Linked DNA regions of Homo sapiens: regions 1, 2, 3, 4, 5 and 6 are each linked to region 7. The links are contacts of gene promoters, found by promoter capture Hi-C in blood cells and fetal thymus (Javierre and others, 2016). All regions are on one chromosome and are shown on one strand. The core of a region is centred on a gene start or on the middle of the fragment in contact, and the rest is flanking DNA. Distances in the headings are between cores, read along the strand shown. Region 1 overlaps LINC01684 (long intergenic non-protein coding RNA 1684). Region 2 overlaps LINC00158 (long intergenic non-protein coding RNA 158). Region 3 has its middle 51 kb from the start of LINC00158. Region 4 overlaps LINC01692 (long intergenic non-protein coding RNA 1692). Region 5 overlaps LINC00158 (long intergenic non-protein coding RNA 158). Region 6 holds the start of C21orf91 (chromosome 21 open reading frame 91). Region 7 holds the start of NCAM2 (neural cell adhesion molecule 2).

The links. Contacts are between HindIII fragments. The CHiCAGO score rates a contact against its expected background, and 5 or more counts as called.
Region 1: a contact is called between a fragment that was not itself captured here and the fragment with the promoter of NCAM2 in region 7, in 4 of 17 cell types (total B cells, naive B cells, endothelial precursors and 1 more). The highest score is 22.0, in total B cells.
Region 2: a fragment that was not itself captured here is called in contact with the fragment with the promoter of NCAM2 in region 7 in 2 of 17 cell types (M0 macrophages and naive B cells); the score reaches 7.5 in M0 macrophages.
Region 3: a fragment that was not itself captured here is called in contact with the fragment with the promoter of NCAM2 in region 7 in 8 of 17 cell types (endothelial precursors, total B cells, M2 macrophages and 5 more); the score reaches 23.2 in endothelial precursors.
Region 4: a fragment that was not itself captured here is called in contact with the fragment with the promoter of NCAM2 in region 7 in 2 of 17 cell types (naive B cells and total B cells); the score reaches 11.5 in naive B cells.
Region 5: a fragment that was not itself captured here is called in contact with the fragment with the promoter of NCAM2 in region 7 in 3 of 17 cell types (total B cells, endothelial precursors and naive B cells); the score reaches 6.9 in total B cells.
Region 6: a contact is called between the fragment with the promoter of C21orf91 here and the fragment with the promoter of NCAM2 in region 7, in 2 of 17 cell types (total B cells and M0 macrophages). The highest score is 5.3, in total B cells.

The regions. Positions count from the first base shown.
Region 1 is chr21:24,508,494-24,511,193 of GRCh38, reverse strand. All of the region lies in intron 1 of LINC01684 (long intergenic non-protein coding RNA 1684), which reads right to left. Among named protein-coding and RNA genes, the nearest start is that of LINC01684, 81 kb to the right of the region's middle. The HindIII fragment of the contact is 221 bases long and covers 1,213-1,433 here.
Region 2 is chr21:25,396,672-25,399,371 of GRCh38, reverse strand. The region is part of intron 4 of LINC00158 (long intergenic non-protein coding RNA 158); the gene reads left to right. Among named protein-coding and RNA genes, the nearest start is that of LINC00158, 34 kb to the left of the region's middle. The HindIII fragment of the contact is 1,637 bases long and covers 432-2,068 here.
Region 3 is chr21:25,378,996-25,381,695 of GRCh38, reverse strand. No RefSeq gene overlaps it. Among named protein-coding and RNA genes, the nearest start is that of LINC00158, 51 kb to the left of the region's middle. The HindIII fragment of the contact is 998 bases long and covers 810-1,807 here.
Region 4 is chr21:25,043,279-25,045,978 of GRCh38, reverse strand. All of the region lies in intron 3 of LINC01692 (long intergenic non-protein coding RNA 1692), which reads right to left. Among named protein-coding and RNA genes, the nearest start is that of LINC01692, 200 kb to the right of the region's middle. The HindIII fragment of the contact is 4,295 bases long and covers 1-2,700 here.
Region 5 is chr21:25,413,354-25,416,053 of GRCh38, reverse strand. All of the region lies in intron 4 of LINC00158 (long intergenic non-protein coding RNA 158), which reads left to right. Among named protein-coding and RNA genes, the nearest start is that of LINC00158, 17 kb to the left of the region's middle. The HindIII fragment of the contact is 1,647 bases long and covers 591-2,237 here.
Region 6 is chr21:17,817,952-17,820,651 of GRCh38, reverse strand. C21orf91 (chromosome 21 open reading frame 91) reads left to right here and starts at 1,296. Exons shown (of 5, transcript NM_001100420.2): 1 at 1,296-1,349; 2 at 2,327-2,460. The coding sequence starts at 2,334. All of the region lies in intron 2 of LOC124900465 (a long non-coding RNA gene), which reads right to left. RefSeq lists an enhancer at 602-651 and a silencer at 902-1,681. The HindIII fragment of the contact is 2,618 bases long and covers 1-1,849 here.
Region 7 is chr21:20,997,072-20,999,771 of GRCh38, reverse strand. NCAM2 (neural cell adhesion molecule 2) reads right to left here and starts at 1,363. Exons shown (of 18, transcript NM_004540.5): 1 at 1,154-1,363. The coding sequence starts at 1,208. The HindIII fragment of the contact is 4,236 bases long and covers 434-2,700 here.

The sequences.
Region 1 (2,700 bases), core at 74-2,573, 3.5 Mb before region 7:
TCTTCGCTAATGAATTTGTCAGTTGTTGTTTGTAATTATTTATGAGCCATTAGCTCAATGTTGTTATTACATCCTGACAACAGTGACATTTTAAAGAGCTTTGGATAATAAAATACACTTCTTATATACAATGCAATGTATTCTCCATTATTTTTATAACAACATGTCTCTAGAAACCAGAATTTCTAATGTCTCCCAATACAATCGTTTGCCATGAAGCAGCGGTTCCTTCTCAAAGTGTTTGTTGTGCCCCAACCAGTAGCACCAGCATAACCTGGGAGTTTCTAAAAATAAAACATTATCGGGACCCCCTTTTACTGAATTAATCAGAAGCATTGGCAATGGAGCTCAGCAATCCATATTTTAATACTTCTCCCAGGTGACTATGATGCATATGGCAATTTAATAGCTATTGTTATATATTTAAAAGAGAGGTAAATAGTGTTTAATTATTATGTTAGTAATGTATGCTTTATGAGATACTCAAAGTTTTCACTTTAAATTACAAAGGATCTGTTAAATTTATGAATGATTAACCTGTAGGTTCAACTGTCCAATATTAGCTCAAATGCTAAACTGTAGAGAATAATAGTGCAGGAGGTGTCACCATACTGCTTCTTCTAGAAACATAGCACGTAGTTGATGCATGTAACAAAGACACATGTTTGAATTTCAGTTTTTTATTAAATGAGAAACATTCTAAGGTTTTCTAGAAAACCATTTACAGTAGGTTAATTTTCTCCCAAGACAACTGTGCCTAAAGACATTCATAAGTAAAAGAAATAATTTTCTGATAATGATTTACCAGGTTCTCCTTGGCAGGGCAGTCTGATGGCCACATTTCAATTAGGACTTGGTGGTACAGTCACCACGAAGAAATAAATGTCACCTGTAGCCTTACCAGTCCTCACTTACAAACATCCTCAATTCTTACTAAGTAAGATAGTCTGCCTTCCATCAATGGCAGTCTTCTTACAGCCTTCATTCTTTTCAGGGGTGTCCAATCTTTTGGCTTCCCTGGGCCACATTGGAAGAAGAAGAATTGTCTTGGGCTACACATAAAATACACTAACACTAATAATAGCTGATAAGCAAAAGAAAAATGCAAACTATTTTCATAATGTTTTAAGAAAGTTTACTAATTTGTGTTGGGCTGCATTCAAAGCCCTCATGAGCCCACATGTGGTCTGCGGGTCGTGGGTTGGACAAGCTTGTTTTAAATCTTCCTCAAGCTATGTAGTTGGTGTTTTCAAAGGTACTGGATTGTCCTTCAAACTATGCATTACTTTTCTATATGTTCATATTTCTAGAGTTGTTAAGGCCCCTTAGTGATTCACAATCACATATCCAAGGAAAAAAGATAGCAACATGTTGTGTTTTAGTATTAAGAATCTGTTGTATTTTGACCCCTCTTAGTGTGAAATAATAAAGCTTCCACAGCGTGTAAGGGGACCTGAATGGGTTGCTGCTGCTGCCTGGGGTGGCCAGCTTTTATTCCTTTATTTGTCCCCACCCACATCCTACTGATTGGTCCATTTTACAGAGTGCTGATTGGTGCATTTACAATCCTTTAGCTAGACATAGAAAAGTTCTCCAAGTCCCCACTCAACCCAGAAGTCCAGCTGGCTTCATCTCTCATTAGGATTTATAGAACACTGAAATCTAAATAATTATATATGTTTAAAATGGAAGTTACAGACTTAAAAATCTAGTTATTGACCATGTGATGATTTTGTAAGAGTTTACAGAACAATATTTAACTTTTGTCAGTAGAAAGATTTCTACCTGTAAAATTAGAGTACTCACAATAGTTTCTACTGAAGAGTAGGCTATCCCATGGGGATAATTTCTATATATCTGGAGACAGTGCTGTCAAAACTACTGCAAGCGATTCTCTTTCTTTCTCCTCTTCTCTCAAAATAACAGCCAACAAATAACTGAGCCATAAATCAGATTGCTCTATTTGTTAAATCAGCTGAAGCAAGCTGGTGACTGCTTTGTGAACCATTTATTTTAGTTGAATTCTACTCAGTTCTTCACATGCCCTAAATTTTACATGTATAATGGGTTAGTGGAGTTTTCAGAGTGTTCTGACAAGAGATCTAAATATATATGTTTGTTAAAATTCAAAGATGTGTGCTAATATGTAAAATATTTTGATGACCTTACTGCTTGGAAAAAAAACTTACTTGCTTACAATTTATTTAACAACCAGTCAGTATTAGAGTATGGCATAAATAGTTTTTCTTCACAATGCACTGTGGTACAAGTGCCTTAAAAATAAGGTGTACAAAATCCTTTCTTTCCATGTGTTTAAGTAAAGGCAAAAAGATGATAATACCACATGAGAGATGACAAGAACCTTAAGAAATTAGAGTGAGCAAAGAACTGAGAAAATATCTATAAACATACATAGGTAAAATACGCAAGTTTTCTTCTACAATATCCTGCTAGAAGCTGGGGTCTAGAACTTGTAACACTGCTGAAACACTTTGAAAGTATTCTGAACCACATTACAGTTCACATGTCATTCCTGAAGTTATTGCATTTCCAGAGTAACCACGAGGTAGTACAAGTAATACAATTTGAAGTGATATCTGAAGGTAGAGTTGCTGGATATAAATTTCTTATACTATGTTATGTTACTGAGGTAGGGAGGGGAATGGATATTCATGAGCATAATGAGCAGGGCTTTTTTTT
Region 2 (2,700 bases), core at 1-2,500, 4.4 Mb before region 7:
AGTTCCACAGTCACTCTGTTCTCCCTCCCCCAGGCACACAGATTCTCCCTCCACTTGCTGCTGCTGGAGGGTAAGGGAGAAGTGCTGTATACAGGGCAGGCCTGCCTTTCCTAACCCCATCGGTGCCTCTTTCCTTGATATGATGTCAGAATCAGGTACTGTGATCGTTCACCTGATTTTGGCTTTTATGAAGGTGCTTTTTTGCTTGAGTAGTTTTTCAATTTGGTGCTCCTGTTTGGGAATAATTGCTGGAGGGTTCTATTCAGCTATCTCATGACTTAAAGGTTGTCTGTTTAATTGAAATTAAATGTTCTAATATAAATCCAGCCCAAGGAAAGTACAAATTTATTTCAATTAGCATTTTTGAGGACTATATGAGAACTTTTTTTTTTTTTTTACTTTACATATGTCCTCAATAGATATATCAAGCTTGTCTGGGTGCAGAATTACCAATGGAATAATCACTTCTGTTCGACTACTATAAAGCAATTCCTACACCAAGAAAGTTGCCCAGGATTTTTGTATGTTTTTAAGCAGGTCCTTAAAAAGGGGGTCACTTCCCCTTTTGTAGGAGAAAAGAGCAATAAATATATTTAATGTTATACTCAGAAATATGAACATAAAGTGTAACTTCATGGATCCTGATTCTAACTGCAAATAATTTTCATTCTTCTGTGGTCACAACGCAGATAATCAGTTGTAATTGGAGGTCACGGATAAAAGCTAATCCTTGGCCCAGCCTGCTTATTCTCTCCCACTATCTGTATCTTACCCTCAGGCCCTCTGTGTCTGCTGCTCTTCTGTTACACTCAAGGTCCCCATGTAGACTTTTATTTAAGCCAGCAGTGTGTGGATCTAGAACTTGAAACCATTCATTTTTAGAATACAGTGATGCCTCAAGCCTAGATGAAATAACTGCTTCAATTAAATAGCGCCTTAAATGATAATTTGTGTTAACCCATATGCTATTTTAGTTTTTTTAGTTGAAAATAAATTTGTATGTATTTATGGTATAAAATATGATGTTTTGAAATATGTATGCATTGTAGAATGGCTAAATCAAGCTAATTAGCATACTGATAGTAAACTTTTTTTGTGGTAAGAAAATTTAAAATCCACTCTCTTTGCTATTTTCAAGTATTCAGTACATTGTTTTTAACTAGTCATCATGCTGTACAGTAGATCTCTTGAACGTATTCCCTCTATGTAACTGAAATATTGTATCCTTTGCCCGATTCTCCCCTCTGCCCTCAACCCTGGGTAACCATCATTCTAATCTCTGCTTCCATAAGTTCGACTTTTTTAGTTCTACATTTCAGTGAGATCATGCAGTGTCTGTCTTTCTGTGCCTGGCCATATGCCTTTTCATCTATGTTGTGAGTGGCTCTCACCAAATCAACAGCGACAAATTTAAACTAGGGAAATAGATTGCCAAAAATTACATTTGCTTTAAGTTTAAATGGGCAATGAACCATACCTAAATAAATAAATTAAAAAAAATCTTTTACACCAAGGGTGGCTACAAATATACCTAGAATAGTCAGCTCTAACACACATGGTGTTACTCAGAGTGATGTAATACCCCTTTGCTGCCTAATACATTCTTGTTGTCTTTTGACCTGTTAAGAATAAACAGTATATGGCACTCACTTGTGCTGAGCACTGTTTCCCACCTCTCATGTACCTTGACGCCTGGGGATAAACCCTATATTCGCATATCGCGCCTTCCATACCCACCTGTACCCTACATGCGCCAGGTAGAAGTGTTTCCATTCTCCCCTCTCCAATGGACTCTTTTCCCTGGTTTGGTAGCTACCTTTCCAAATCCCATCAGAAGATACATGTTTTATTCTGGCAAAACATATATTCTAGAACAAGTCTTCAAATCTCATTAAAGGCCACTCTTTACCCCTTATGCCTTAGTCCAGTTAATACCTTCATTAATGATTTTTTAAAAATTCAATGATTAGAAACCTTTTATCCTTCTTCCAAGGGAAGACTTTAGGACTTAACCATTAGACTTCCCTCATAAATATCTCATTCCCTATGAGGCAGGCATCTAAAAGCTTATAGCTAGTTGGATTTTAATTTGAAGGTTAAATTACAAACAGATCATTCTCCCTGAAATTAGTTAAGACTCTGTTTGTATAGAATAAAAAATTAATTCCGTAAAATCAGATATTAGATTGCAATGCTTTTTAGAATATTTTATACAATTATAAGATGATTATACATCTTAAATTCAGAAACAAAAGAAATGATTTTTAAAAAATGGAATATATTCTAAGACTATTAAAAGATTACATTGCAAAATCAATCAGAAATTTCAAATATACATAAAAACAAAGATGGCTTTCAAATATCTTTCACTGGAGATTTTAAAGTAAAATAATTCTCTGAAGGAGATATATATATATTATGGAATCAATTCATTCCAAGTTTCTAAAATTTTAAAAATCCATTTAATCTCTATCTCTTCTGTGTTATAATGTAGAATGTATTCATATTCAGATTATCTCTTTAAGTGGCCTACTTGATTTAAAGGAGAAAAATATAACCTAGGCATTGCGTTGACTGAAAAGATATGGCATTTTAAATGGCATCAAGATTGCAATTTCTACAACATTTATGATTTTCCTTTTGATTTTACAGCAGCAATACTGTAAAAGGTTTAATTTATTTCTCAGATTAGCTCTTTGG
Region 3 (2,700 bases), core at 59-2,558, 4.4 Mb before region 7:
GACAACCAGGTCTATGCAGGATTTGACTAGCTCTGTACAGATATCATCTGATGGAGTTTTCACCTGGTACCTTACCATGGACCTCTGACTTTTGTTAAAGGCTTTTCTGGAGCATCGGCATTGGATGTTCTTGGAAGCTTGCTCACCTCTCATGAGTGTGCAATCTGAGCACTGGAGGAGATAATGCCCTGTGAAGGATAAAAACCAATTGATAAATGGCTTCTTCTCTCTTTCCCCAGGCAGATAGTTTTGACATATATTCCATAAGAGTCCTTCAAAGATTCCAGGAGATCAAAAACCAATCACCAATTTGAAAAATCATTCTCATATTGAATTTTTCTCGTACCTTGTTCTACTTTCTTTCATTCCTGCTCTCTAGGATAATCACTTCCCAAATAGAGTGCTCCACCTAAGACTTTGTCTCAGGATCTTTTTTTAGGGATCACAGGTTAAGACACAGCAGAACCATCATATGAGCTAATTTTGATGAAAAAAACAATCTTTGGAGGAGACTTCTGGTTCCAAAATGGCAACATAGAAGCAAACTGGCCTTACTTTTCCCCATAGAATACCAAAAACAAATATGCAGTACGAAGATTATCACCAGCAATATCTCAGAACTCAAATATGAGGCTGAGATGTTCCTGGGGCCACAGAGAAGTGAAAAAACTCTAAGAAAACAGTAAGAGAATTGGACCTTCATATTCATGACATCCATCCTCCCATCTGCCCAACACCAAGCATGTGGAAAATTTTCCCAACTCACAGTTTCTATACTGGAAAAAGTGCGATCAAGGTGATAACAAGCTTCTCCATAATCCCAGGTTCTTTGGCAGGGTAACTGTCCCTGCCTCAACCCACAGGAAGCATTGGGAGTACCTAAAGGGAGAAATATCCTGGAAGACAGTTAGAGACAAAGAGGAGAGGCTGGACTACTGTTCTTAGCCCAGGAAGCTCTGCTCTGCAACTTGGTCAAAGAGATGGCAAATCAGAGTGGCTGTTCAGCAGCATCAAACTGTAAAAGGTTTGTTCCACAGGTCACTGGGCGTGAATCTTTAGGCACAGGCACCATTCTAATACTATTAAGTATCTCCTTTGTGACCTCTCTCATTTGAGATGGCAGCACTCTGATTGTTTCCTAGAATCAAGGGAGACTTGGGTGTAAGACACCATCTAGTACTGAAAAGAAGCAGTGACCAAGCAGAGGAAAAAGAAAATCAACAGAGAAATTACAAAGCATCTCTAAGCAAACATATCCAATAAAAACCCGAACAACTTAGACAAAAAGACTAGAATAAATAATAAATCCTTCAATGCAAAGGCATAGACATATATCCACAAGAAACAATAGCAAATAGGGAACCATCATTTCTCCAAAGGAACAAAGCCAGGATCCAGCAACTGACTCTAACTAGATGCTGATATGTGATCACTCTGACCAAGAATTCAAAATAGCAGTTTTAGGGAAACTCAGTAATCTCCAGGATAACACAGAAAAACAATTCAGAAATTTACCAGAGAGATTTAATAATGAGATTGAACTAATAAAAACAAACAGACAGAAATCTTGGAACTGGGAAATACATTTGCTGAATCAAAAATTCATTAGAAGCAGCAGAATGGCTTAAGCAGAGGAAAGAATCAGTGAGTTCAAAGATAGGCTATTTGAAAATACACAGACGAGAAAAAAGAAAAAGGATATAAAGAAATAATCACCAAAAAGAAATAGAAATTTAACTTGAAAGACTAAACCCAAGAATTATTGGTGTTCAAGAGGGAGTTGAGCAAGAGGAAAGAGTGGAAAGCTTATTTAAATACACAATAACAGAAAACCTTCCAAAACTAAATAAAGAGGAAAATATCTAAGTACAGGAAGGTCAGAGAACACCAAATAGGTGTCTGACCTAAATAAGACTACCAAAAGTCATATTACGATCAAACTTTCAAATGTCAAGGACAGAGAGAATCCTGAAAGCAGAGAAGCAAATAACGTATAAAGGAGCTCCAATTTGCCTAACAAACCTGTCAGTGAAAATCATACAGGCTGTGAGGGAGTGGAACAATATTTTTTAAATAACTTTTAGTTTAGGTTTTGGGGTACATCTGAAGGTTTGTTACATAGGTAAACTCATGTCACAAGGGTTTGTTGTGCGGATGATTTCATCACCCGGGTACTAAGCCCAGTGCCCAGTAGTCTTCTTTTCTGCTCCTCTCCCTTCTCCCGCCCTCCATCCCCAAGTAGACCCCGGTGTCTGTTATTCCCTTCTTTGTGTTCATGAGTTCTCATCATTTAGCTCCCACTTACAAGTGAGAACATGGAGTATTTGGTTTCCTGTTTCTGCATTAGTTTGCCTAGGATAATAGCCTCCAGCTCCTTCAGTGTTCACACAAAAGACATTAACTCATTCTTTTTTACGGCTGCATAGTATTCTGTGGTGTATATGTACCACATTTTCTTTATCCAAACTGTTGTGGTTGGGCATTTAGGTTGATTCCACATCTTTGCTATTGTGAATAGTGCAGCAGTGAACATTCACATGTATGTGTCTTTATGGTAGAATGATGTATATGCTTCTGGGTATAAACCCAGTAATGGAATTGCTGCGTCCAATGGTGGTTCTGCTTTTAGCTCTTTGAGGAATCACCATACTGCTTTCCACAATAGTTGAACTAATTTACACTCCTACCAATAGTGTATAA
Region 4 (2,700 bases), core at 69-2,568, 4.0 Mb before region 7:
CATTGCAGGATGAATGCATAGCTATGAATAAATACTTAAAGCCATTCCATTTATAGAAGTGTATTTTTCAATGAGAAAGTGAAAGCCGAATTCTTTAATTTAATTTGACAAACACTTCCTCACCTAAAAGTGTGTATGTATTTTGTACTTATTTTTTGCTATCTGAAGATGAGAAGCGAGAGATGAGGTATATAGATGAGAGGATTATCAACGAGCAAGGCCAACAGGATCAGAAAAATAATGTACAGTATATGATAAGCATAATCCTATCAGAAGTGTGAAAGGAAATGGTAATAATGAGTATACTCATTTTCTCATTAGCTCCTAGACTTTTCTATCTCAATTTGAACTAGAACTTTAGGCTCACTATGTGCAAATCCTTACTCATATTGTATTTTCATATTATATTTTTTCCTGCTTCTCCTCTCTTCAGTCTTGCAATCTGACTTGCCCTTTACTTTGTATTTATTTCCTGCTTTCCTAGATTAATAGCATCAACATCTGCTTAGCATCTCAGTTAGAAATCACAAAATTGTCTGCAATTCTTCCATGTTCCACATCTTGGAGTGTCATTCATAACCATGACACTCACTACTCTAGCGGGTCAGATATATCCATCTCTTCCACTCCATTGGCTCTGCCCAATTTTCTATTTAGATGCTCATAAACTCTTCACTGTGCTATAACATAGTTTCTGGCTGCCAGCATCTCCTCAATCTGCACTGTCATGAGAGTTATTTTCCAAGACTGTATCTATACCCAATCAAGCCACTGAGTTAACAAACTAACTGTTCCCTGAATTTTATGACATAAAAACTTGAATTCTCTTTCTGATATATGTAAAAGACTATTCAAATCCTGTGAGGCTGACAATTTATAGTTCTCATTTCTCCACGTCATACTCCTTTGAATTTTGCAATGTAGTACCCATCTTTATGTGTCACTATTTATGAATTGCTTTTGCTGTTTAATTTCTCTTTGTTAATATCATATGTATTCCTGTCTCCAAAATAGCATCTGTTCCACATTTGGTATCATTTATCTTGAATTTAAAGAAATATGTAAAGCACCTTCTATGCTGATTCTTTTCCAGAAATAAGAAAATATTCTCCTGCCTATAAGTTGTGCCCACCCTGATACCAATCTTTTCTAGCAACATTTTTTTATAGGTGAACTATCAGATTTTTAAAGATACCATACCATTTTAAAATCTTACATTTTTCAAGACAAAACTAATTATTTGCTCTTTGAAAATTCTTTATAATATGTCAAGTTCTGTCCTGCAGTATACATAAATGTTCTACATTTATTTAAATGTAAGAATCTCTGAGGATCTGCATTGTTCTTTTTAGACTTGTGAATCTTTTATGAATTTTTGAAAATTTCATTATAAACCGACATTATATTCCTGAAAGGGCCATGACTGTTTCTGGACATCAAATTCTTAAATATTCTAAGGAGCCAGAGGCAATAGGTTTCTAACAGGCTTTCAGAGTTGTTTTTATTATGATCATTGTTCAACATTCTTGACTTAATTTCAACCTATTTTCCTTTAAAATGATTATTCTTAGTTCCTGCAAATATTCTCTTTGTCATTTGGGCTATATTTCCTGTATTCCACTGTGGTGTTTTGATAAATCTAATAATCTTTCTTCTTAACTGACACTGCAGGGTTTTAAGTTTATCACTTGATTGACATATAATTGCAATGCTTATTTCCTGAATCCCTAATTCCAGCCGTCTGGCTTAAGTACAGTTTTGCTCATTGTTGTATTAGAATAAAATATTTCTCATATTTTGTTTATGTTTCTAAGGCAGTCAACATATTCTCTGCCATGAGAAAATAACATATCTTCTTTTAATCCACTCCTATCTACTCCTGTCCCCCTTTGTTTGAACTGTTTCCATGTCTACAGTGGGACCTTTTTTCTTTACACAAATAGCAATTCAATATTCTGTGCTATAGCTTTTCAATTATACAGACTGTGATGGGCTAAATTGTGTCCCCTGAAAATTCATATGTTGAAGCCATAATCCCCCAGTACCTGAGAATGTGCCAGTATTTAGAGGCAGGGCCTTTAAAGAGATAATTATGTTAAAATGAGATTACTAGGGAGGGCCCTAAACCAAACTGACTGGTGTTCTCCCAAGAAGAGATTTGGACACACACAGAGACATCAGAAGTGTGTGTGCACAGAGGAAAAACCATGAGAAGAGGCAGCAACGGCACAGTCATCCGCAAACCAAGGAGAGGGACTCAGCAGAAACCAGCCCTTCCAACACCTTCATCTCAGACTTCCAGCCTCTAGAATTATAAATTCCTGTTGGTTAAGCCACCCAGTCTGCAATATTTTGTCATGGAAGCCCGAGCAAACTAATGCATAGATAAATAAATTACCTGTAAAAACACATGACACAATAATTAAATGTACATACAACAAACTAATTATATGTAAATATTTTGTGATAAATCGGAAGAAAAGATAGGAGAAATGTTCAACCTGGTTATGTTGTCTGTAAGCCCCTGGGCTTCTGCTGTTAGTGCTTCTATTGAAACTATGTTATTCAAATAAATTCTGAATTCATTACCTTTAAAACCTTAGTTAATGCAGGGATAAATGGAAAATATAAACTCGATTTCTGAGGAAAGATTACGAGCACTCTTATGTTAGTTATGTTTATTGAAAAAGAAAAATGGTT
Region 5 (2,700 bases), core at 165-2,664, 4.4 Mb before region 7:
GTCATTCCTTATATGGAGCTGAACTTTTCCTCTGTGTTCTAGTTTTGTCTTATGCAGCAAATCTCTTCCAGTATCTCTTCTGTACGATGGGCTTTATTTACTATTTTACATGCGCATGTTTTAAATTCAATTATTTGAGAATTAGTTGCTTTAGCTTTGCATGACACTTCACTCCTTATTCATGACACTTCACTCCTACATACTTAAATGAGTATCTCAGAAGAACAAGAAGATTCTCCTCAAACCCACAATGCAGTGATCACACTCAAGACATTTAAAATTGATATAATACCATTATCTAATATATAGGCTTTAGAAAAAGTTCTTCAATTGTCTCTATGCAGTCTTTAAAATGTTTTTTAACTTTATTTTTAATTAACAAATATTATAAATAATTGGTATATATTATATATTTATGGGGTCTTGATGTGATGTTTTGATATTTGTTTACATTGTGGAATGATTAAATCAAACTAATTAACAAATTCATCCCCTCACATACTCATTATTTTTTTGTGGTGGGAACATTTAAAATCTACTCTTTAATTGTTTTTTATAATCACCATTCTGTGCAATAGATCACTAAAGCTTATTCCTCCTATCTAACAGAAATATTTTGCCCTTTAATAAACACATATGATAGACTTTAAATGCTTTTTTCTTCTGTAAGATCTCTTCAGTAGACTATTCATTATTGACAGAACTTGTAGACATTTACCATCATAATAATCTCCTTCCTTCAATGTTCCCTGTTATGGATAGAATGTTTGTGTCTAACATTTGTATTTCAAAATCTAACCCACAATGTGATGGTGATATAGTTTGAATATTTGTCCCCACCCAAATCTCATACTGAAATATAATTCCCAATTACATGGGGCCAGGTGGGGCCTGGTAGAGGTGTTTGGATCATTGAGGTGGATCCCTCAGGAATGTCTTGGGCCATCCCCTTCATGATAAGTGAGCCCTCGCACTGAGTTCACGTGAGATCTGGTGGTTTACAAGTGTGCAGCACCTTCCCCGACTCCCCACTGTTACTCTTGCTCCCGCTCTGGCCATGTGAGAAGGCTGCTCCCGCTTTGCCTCCTGCCATGAGTAAAAGCTCCCTGAGGCTTCCCCAGAAGCCCAGCAGATGCCAGGGCCATGCTTCCTGTACAGCGTGTAGAACTCCAAGCCAATTAAGCCTCTGTTCCTTATAAAGTATCCAGTCTCAGACATTTCTTTATAGCAAAGCAAGAATGGCCTAACACAGATGGTATTTGAAGGTGGAGTCTTCAGGAGGTAATTAGGTCATGAGGATGGAGCCCTCACAAATGGGATTAGTGCCCTTATAAGAAGAGGACAGAGAGCTCTTGCTCTCTTTCCACCATGGGAGGATACATTGAGGAGTTGGAAGTCTGCAACCCAGAAGGGGATCTTTGTTAGAATCCCACAATGATTGGACCCTGATCTCAGACTTCCAGCCTCAAGAATGTTTGTTGTTTAAGTACTAGTCTATGGTATTTTGTTACAGTAGCCCAAACTGATCAAGACACTCCCTATATTGCAAATGCACCTTCTAAAATGTGATAGAAATATTGGTTTAAGAAAATTTCAATTCAGCACAATTCAATTCAACAATGCAGGGAACAATCATCAAGCATTTATAATTTGCCAGGCACTCTATTAGGCCCTAGGGCTATATCAGTGAACATGAAAGATGATCTCCATTTGTCTTCCTGAAGATCACAGTCAGCCAAGACAGATATTCAATATTATTGAATAATTCATTAGTGGTAACAACTGTGATGAGCATTGCAAAAGAGGTTGTAAAGTTGTCTAAAGCAAGGGGAATTTAATCCTGGAGAATCATGGAAGCCCTCTATGATGAGGAGATATGAAGTGAAGACTTGAAACATGAGTAGAAATTAGAAGGATTTCTAATAGAAATTTTCTGGGATAACAGAGGTCCAGGCAATGGAAGTGGTACATGGGGAAGATGTGGGGCTGAGAGGTGCCTGAGAGCCAAGGGACACAGTGTTTAAGAAGAGGATTCCAAGTTCCTCTATCAATGCAGCAGGTCCTGCGTGGCCATTATTAGGTAATGGGGAACTCGCTGTTCAAAAAGGAGTAATACCTCCACTCTCTTCTTTCTGGGTCTTGCTATTTAGCTTTTACACTCTTTCCTTTTATTTCCTTGCACCATGGTGTTGACAACTATCTTGGTTATGTGAACATATTACTTCAATAATAAAGCTTTAAATGTTTCACTTATGGAAAAAGTGCTCAAGGCAGATAATCTCTCTTCTTCCTCCTTAGTTATATTTTTGTGTCACAATAATCAATTAGATAAAGACAAATCAGTGTCCATTGGGTTTAGCAGCAAGTAGCTCACTGGTAACATCACAAAGAGCCCTTAGTGGCTTAGTGAGAGAAAACCAGATTGCAGCGGGGTGGGGAGTGAATAGGAGGTGAGCTAGAGACTACAGGGAATGCAGCCACTCTTAAAAATCTTAGTTGTCGGGGCAAGAAGAGAGATAGTGTAAGCATCTAGAAGAAAAGAGGAAAAAAAATGTCTTTTTTATTATTATACTTAAAGTTCTGGGGTACATGTGCGGAACGTGCAGTTTTGTTACATAGGTATATACGTGCCATGGTGGTTTGCAGCACCCATCAACCCGTCACCTACATTAGGTATTTCTTCTAATGCTATCTCTCCCC
Region 6 (2,700 bases), core at 47-2,546, 3.2 Mb after region 7:
TCCAACATGCAAGGTATCTTAGTCGTAGTTACCTAGAATGAGAAATTCGAAGAGAAAAAGCACAGGCTTTTCATTTCAATTAGTGCATCTCAAACTTCGATGAACATAGGAATCTCCTGGCGGTCTTGTTAAAGTGCAAGTATTGATTTAGGAAATCTCGAGTGGGGCCTGAGATTCTACATTTCTAACAGGAAACCAAGTAATGTCAATGTTGTTTGTTCATCTACTACAATTTAGGTGGCAAGGACACAGATCGCTCCTGCGAGGCACAAATGCCATAACTGGAGTGCTAATTTGGCCCAGAAGTTTCCAAGATCTAGACAGTCCATTCCTAACCATCAGTTCAAGAATGCCTACATGTAGATTGACAGGCTAGCCCTCTTTCTATGTGAGTGCAACCAGAACACATACATATGATGCTGTAGAAAATAACATTGATCTTAGGTCAGTAGCCTTCGGTTCAAGTCCCAGCCTTTTTCTAACCAACTGTGATAACCTGGGTCAATTACTCGTAGGCTGCAACATGAGAGAACAGTTCCTGTTTCTCCTCTGTAGGTTACTGTGAGGACTACAATGGAAAATGTAAGTGAAAGTACTGCAAGAACCATACCCTAAAAAAAACAGAATAGCTTAAACAAAAGTCAAGCAAAGAATTTGAGAACCAAGCAGGACCTAAAAATAAGAGGTGGGGCTTCGGGATTTTTCCCGTGGGCGTTGAGGGATGTACCATATTGGGGGCAGGGGCGCCCCACAACAAATAATGTATTTGAAAAGATTCTGTATTTGAAATTATGCCTCTATCATGACACCTGAATATGAACTTTTCCTTCGTTAGATACTTCAACTGGCACTTAACTATAAGTTCAGTGACAGTATTCTGCTTCTTTCTCCTGAAGTCAAAGTGCCACCCACGCACCTCTCCCGTTCTGCCATCCACCCGCGGCTTTCCTACCCCCGCCGCCTGCGGCCCCCGCCCCGGGGCAGTAGTTTGCACTAGGCTGAAGGGAGAGGTGGAACGGATTCGTCTATCTACGCACCTCGAGGAGGGGTGTGTGAGGAGCTACGTTCCAGAGAACGGTAAGAAACTCCGGCCAGGAAACACGGGATCACAGGAGAACTCGAGGCGAAGGTGCGGCGTCGGTGCAGGAGCGGAGGGGCGGACCCACAGCAGCCCGGCGAGCGCGCAGGTGTGCCCGCGGCCGCGCCACCCTCCCCGCAGCCTTTACGGGATGGAGCCGGCGGGAGAGGGCGGGGCCAGGCGCGCGGCGGCCGCCTCTGCTGCGGCCGGAAACAATAGTGGAGGAACCCGAGCCGCACGGAACGGCGGTGGTGGCCCGCGGAGCCGGACGGTAAAGACCCCGCAGCCCTGCTCCCATCCCACCTGAGCCCCGACCCCCAGTCCCATCGTTCCGCCTCCTTCGAGTTCCGAGCCCCGTGGCCCCTCGCGCTGCTGCGCGCCAGGCGCCCCGACGGACAGACCGACGGAAAGACGGACTTGGGTCCGCGACTCCCTGGGGGCGGCCGCGCGCCCCCAACGCCGAAGGCCGGGCCAGGACCCGGCTCCCCGAGACGCTGAGGCTGGGCGGACCGGCCGCCGTGGCCCTCGGACGCTTTCTTCCCTCTGGGAGGAATCCCGGAGCGATGGGACGAGGCTCTCCCGCCCGCCGGGCTCCAGGATGCCGCGGCTCTCCCAGCTCCGGCTTGGGCCCCTCCGGCGGTGCCCGGCCGGTACCGTGAAGCCGCCGCTCGGCCTTCGGTGTAGTTGCCCCGGACACGGCGGGACGCCCTCCCCGGGTATTCGGTACCCACGTGCATTTTGCTGCCGCCGATCTCCGTTCGATGCGAAGCTTCGCAACTCCGAGTTCGCGAGGCGCATCTGAGGTTCCCCCAATGAAGTTAGCAAAGCAGTGTCCCGTGCAGGTCGTTTTTCCTGTTTCTCACAGCGTTAACTAGGTTGACAGAACCTGGTAGCTGAAAAGGCCTCGCTGCTAAGCCCTCTGATTATTCGAGGTTGGGGGACGAAGGAGGAGGACTAGAATGCCGGCAAATCTCTTTCCTTCAGGTGCCACTAACCCAATCAACTATAGGACAAAAAAGACACGGACATAGTGTCACCTATGGCCTGGCTTTAAGTTTTACTAGCTTTGTGTCTTTCCACAGGAAAAGTGCAATGTTGGAGTGCAAGTATGGCGATGCTTGTTTGATGGAGCTTTTGCTTTAAATGAGCTGAACAGCATCCTTATTTCCTAGAAGTTCCCAGTAAAGGGAACTACCCCAAAGGCAGGTTCATGAAATTGTGTAACTTTCCTTTTCTGTTTCTTAATAGGGGCACTATGAACGAAGAGGAGCAGTTTGTAAACATTGATTTGAATGATGACAACATTTGCAGTGTTTGTAAACTGGGAACAGACAAAGAAACACTCTCCTTCTGCCACATTTGTTTTGAGCTAAATATTGAGGGTAAGGACACAGTATAGTTTTGATCTTATGGAATGAATTTAACACAGCTGCTTTGTACTGATTGTAAGGTAAAACTAAAATGTCTTCAATGATTGGAAATTGTGCTAAGTATGAATAGTGTAGAGATTTGTTAAAGATAAGGTTTCTGGAAATGAAGGTGCAGTTAACAGAGTTACGAATTTAAGAGAAATCTTTTTTTTTTAAAGACCCCTGCAACAACCCCATTTTTCCTAATACAGA
Region 7 (2,700 bases), core at 114-2,613:
CACCCCCTGCTGGACCAAACGAGCAATACAGAAGAGGCTAAAAATGCTTAGAACTGAATATCTTGGGGATATTTTAACTTGTCTTGTAATTTATTATATTATTTTAAAAAACCAATTTCACACTACACTAACAACATAACATTCTTTGCAATCATTACATATCTCAAAATTAGTGCTATTTTATTTTTCCTTTAAAGACTTTCACCAATGCATGTTTTAGCATTTTGTGTCCCTAATTAAACGTCCAAACTTGTCTGGACAGTTGAAAATGCTTCCATTTATTGTAAATATATTTCATGTGAGTGTTTACTATCTAAACAGCCAGATAAATTCATATCTATCTCTCTAGAGACAAACAGTGATAGCTTCCACAAATTCCCTCTCAGGTTATTCTACCAGGCTATTCATTTTTTTTTTTTAAGAGATAAAAGCTTCCACCAGTTCTCCCACAACCCCAAAAATCCTCTACAGGTGTAATTACAATGTAATGTTATAAAATGATTCCACCTTTCTGTATTAATAAGGGGTTGGGGTCAAAATGAATGACTGCAACACATCCCTAGTTTTATCCATTTGCTTTCTTACACACAATATCCACGGCCCCTCTCTTAGTTTCCAACAGAAATAAGCCATCATCATTCACTTCATAGTCAGGAATTAGGGTTTTGGGAAAGGGGTGGAAAAAAAAAAGAGTCTCCAAGAATCGAACGTCTTGCACACAGCAGATATTTTGCAAATGAGTTTAACACTGATAGTTTTTGCTGCTTCTGTAAAACACCATCGTGCCCTTTCCTTCCGCAACCTCAGATATTTCACTGTTAACACACTCATCCAATTTCTGATAATAAAAATAAGAGAAAGCCATAATCCCAGAGGAAAAAAAAAGAAGAAGAAGAAGCGGTTTCCCTGGATATCCTGCTCACCGATTCCCCTCTCCAATTCTGTATTTTCCCTTCTCTTATTTAAGGGTCTCCACACAACAGATACAATTTTAGGGACAGCTAGGAGAAAGAACGAAAATAATAATAACAACAACAGCAATAACTGTAACTTTAGTTCTTTCATTTCATTCTTCCTGCGCCTCCCTCTTTGCCTCTCTTGGCCGGGTGGAAGGGGGAGGGAAAGTAAATGCAATAAAGCGCCACACTCCTACCTTGCCCGCTACTGACAAGCAACCCCAGCAGGTAGAAGGAGAGGAGGAGGCTCATGTTCAGGACGTGACACCGGTGGACAGTTTCAAAGTTATTAAGTCCAGCCCTGGAGAGAGAACCTTTCGCTGCCCCGGCCGCCTCTGCTAGAGCCGCCGCCGCCGCTCCCGCGGTGCCCCAGCCGCCCGCAGCCCGCGCGCTCCTCCTCGCAAAGTGACTGCAAGCTCCGCTCTTGCCGCACTATATCCAGGCAGCGGCGGCGGCAGCGGCGGCAGAAGCAGCAGCAGCAGCGGCCGCCGCGGCGGCAGCAGAGCCGGGCGGGGAGGGCGGCGGGGGCGGGGGCGCGGCGAGGGGAGGTGCGGCCGAGGCGTATCCCTCCGCGCTGCACGGCGGCCGCTCTTCCGCGAGGCGCGCGGTCCCGGGATTCGTCCGCAGTGGAGCTCGAAGTCACGGGTTCGGTCCCCGGTGCCTCCGCCTAGAGGGGCGGCCGCGATCGCGAAGGCGCCACTCGCCCGCCGGCCATCCGCAGGTTCATGCACGCCCTGAGCCGAGAAGGGCGTGGGGATGGGGGCAGCCTGGAGCTCCTTCACAGCCGCCGGCTGCCTCAGGACAGCTGAGCTGATGCTGAGCTGAGCTGAGCTGAGCTGATGCTCATGCAGATGCTGATGCTGATGCTGATGCTGATACTGATACTGCAGGCGACCGCCCCGAGCGCGCCCCGGCTCAACGTGAATGGGGGATCTGGAGGCGGGCGGTGTGCCCCGCAGCTTATTCCTTTTGGGCGTGGGAGGAGGGAGATTCTTGTCTCTCCGTGGACCTCCTTCTCCCTCTCTCGCTCAAACCTGGAGCAGGCTGGCCCCTTGCGCGGCTGTCCCCTTCCCACGCTCCCCACCCCGCCGCGACAGAGGGGAAGCAATTGTACCCTAAAGTCTACACTGTCTGTCTCCTCAGGCGCTAAAGGGTGGGCGGAAAAATAACGTACAGAGTGTTTCCTCTACATCTCGACCCATTGCTGTTGGGAGCGGCACCTTACGGGAGAGACACTGGAGAGGGGACGAGCCGCGGGAGGGGCTGCGTTCAACTCAGCCTTAGCCTCAGCTGTGTCCTTAGAGGCCTGAAGTCTCTCCTGGCCTCACTCCGCGGGCTCTGCCCTCGGTCCCAGTGCGCTGCACTGGCCAGATCCCCGCCAGGAGTGCACCGAGGGAGGACTGCAAATGTGCAAAGATGAGTTGGGTCGCGGGGGGGAGACCTTCCCCAGATCAGTGCCCTACCCCGAACACCCACGTACCCGCGTGTGCGAGTGTAAATTGAAGTGAGGGAGCCGTGGCAAACGCCCGGAACTAACTCTCTGCTCCTTAAGATTGGGGCTTATCGTTATTTCTCCTAGAAGGGTAGGAAAACGTTTGTGAGATTAACGTCACCTCTCCTGCAAGAGCGGTTAAGAGGCAGAATCACCGGCCCGGGTGCGGAGCCCATGTCAATCTGGCCTGGGGTTACCGCGACCTGCAAACGCTGACGATGGGTCCTTTCATCTGCACTTTCTCTCTGGCTC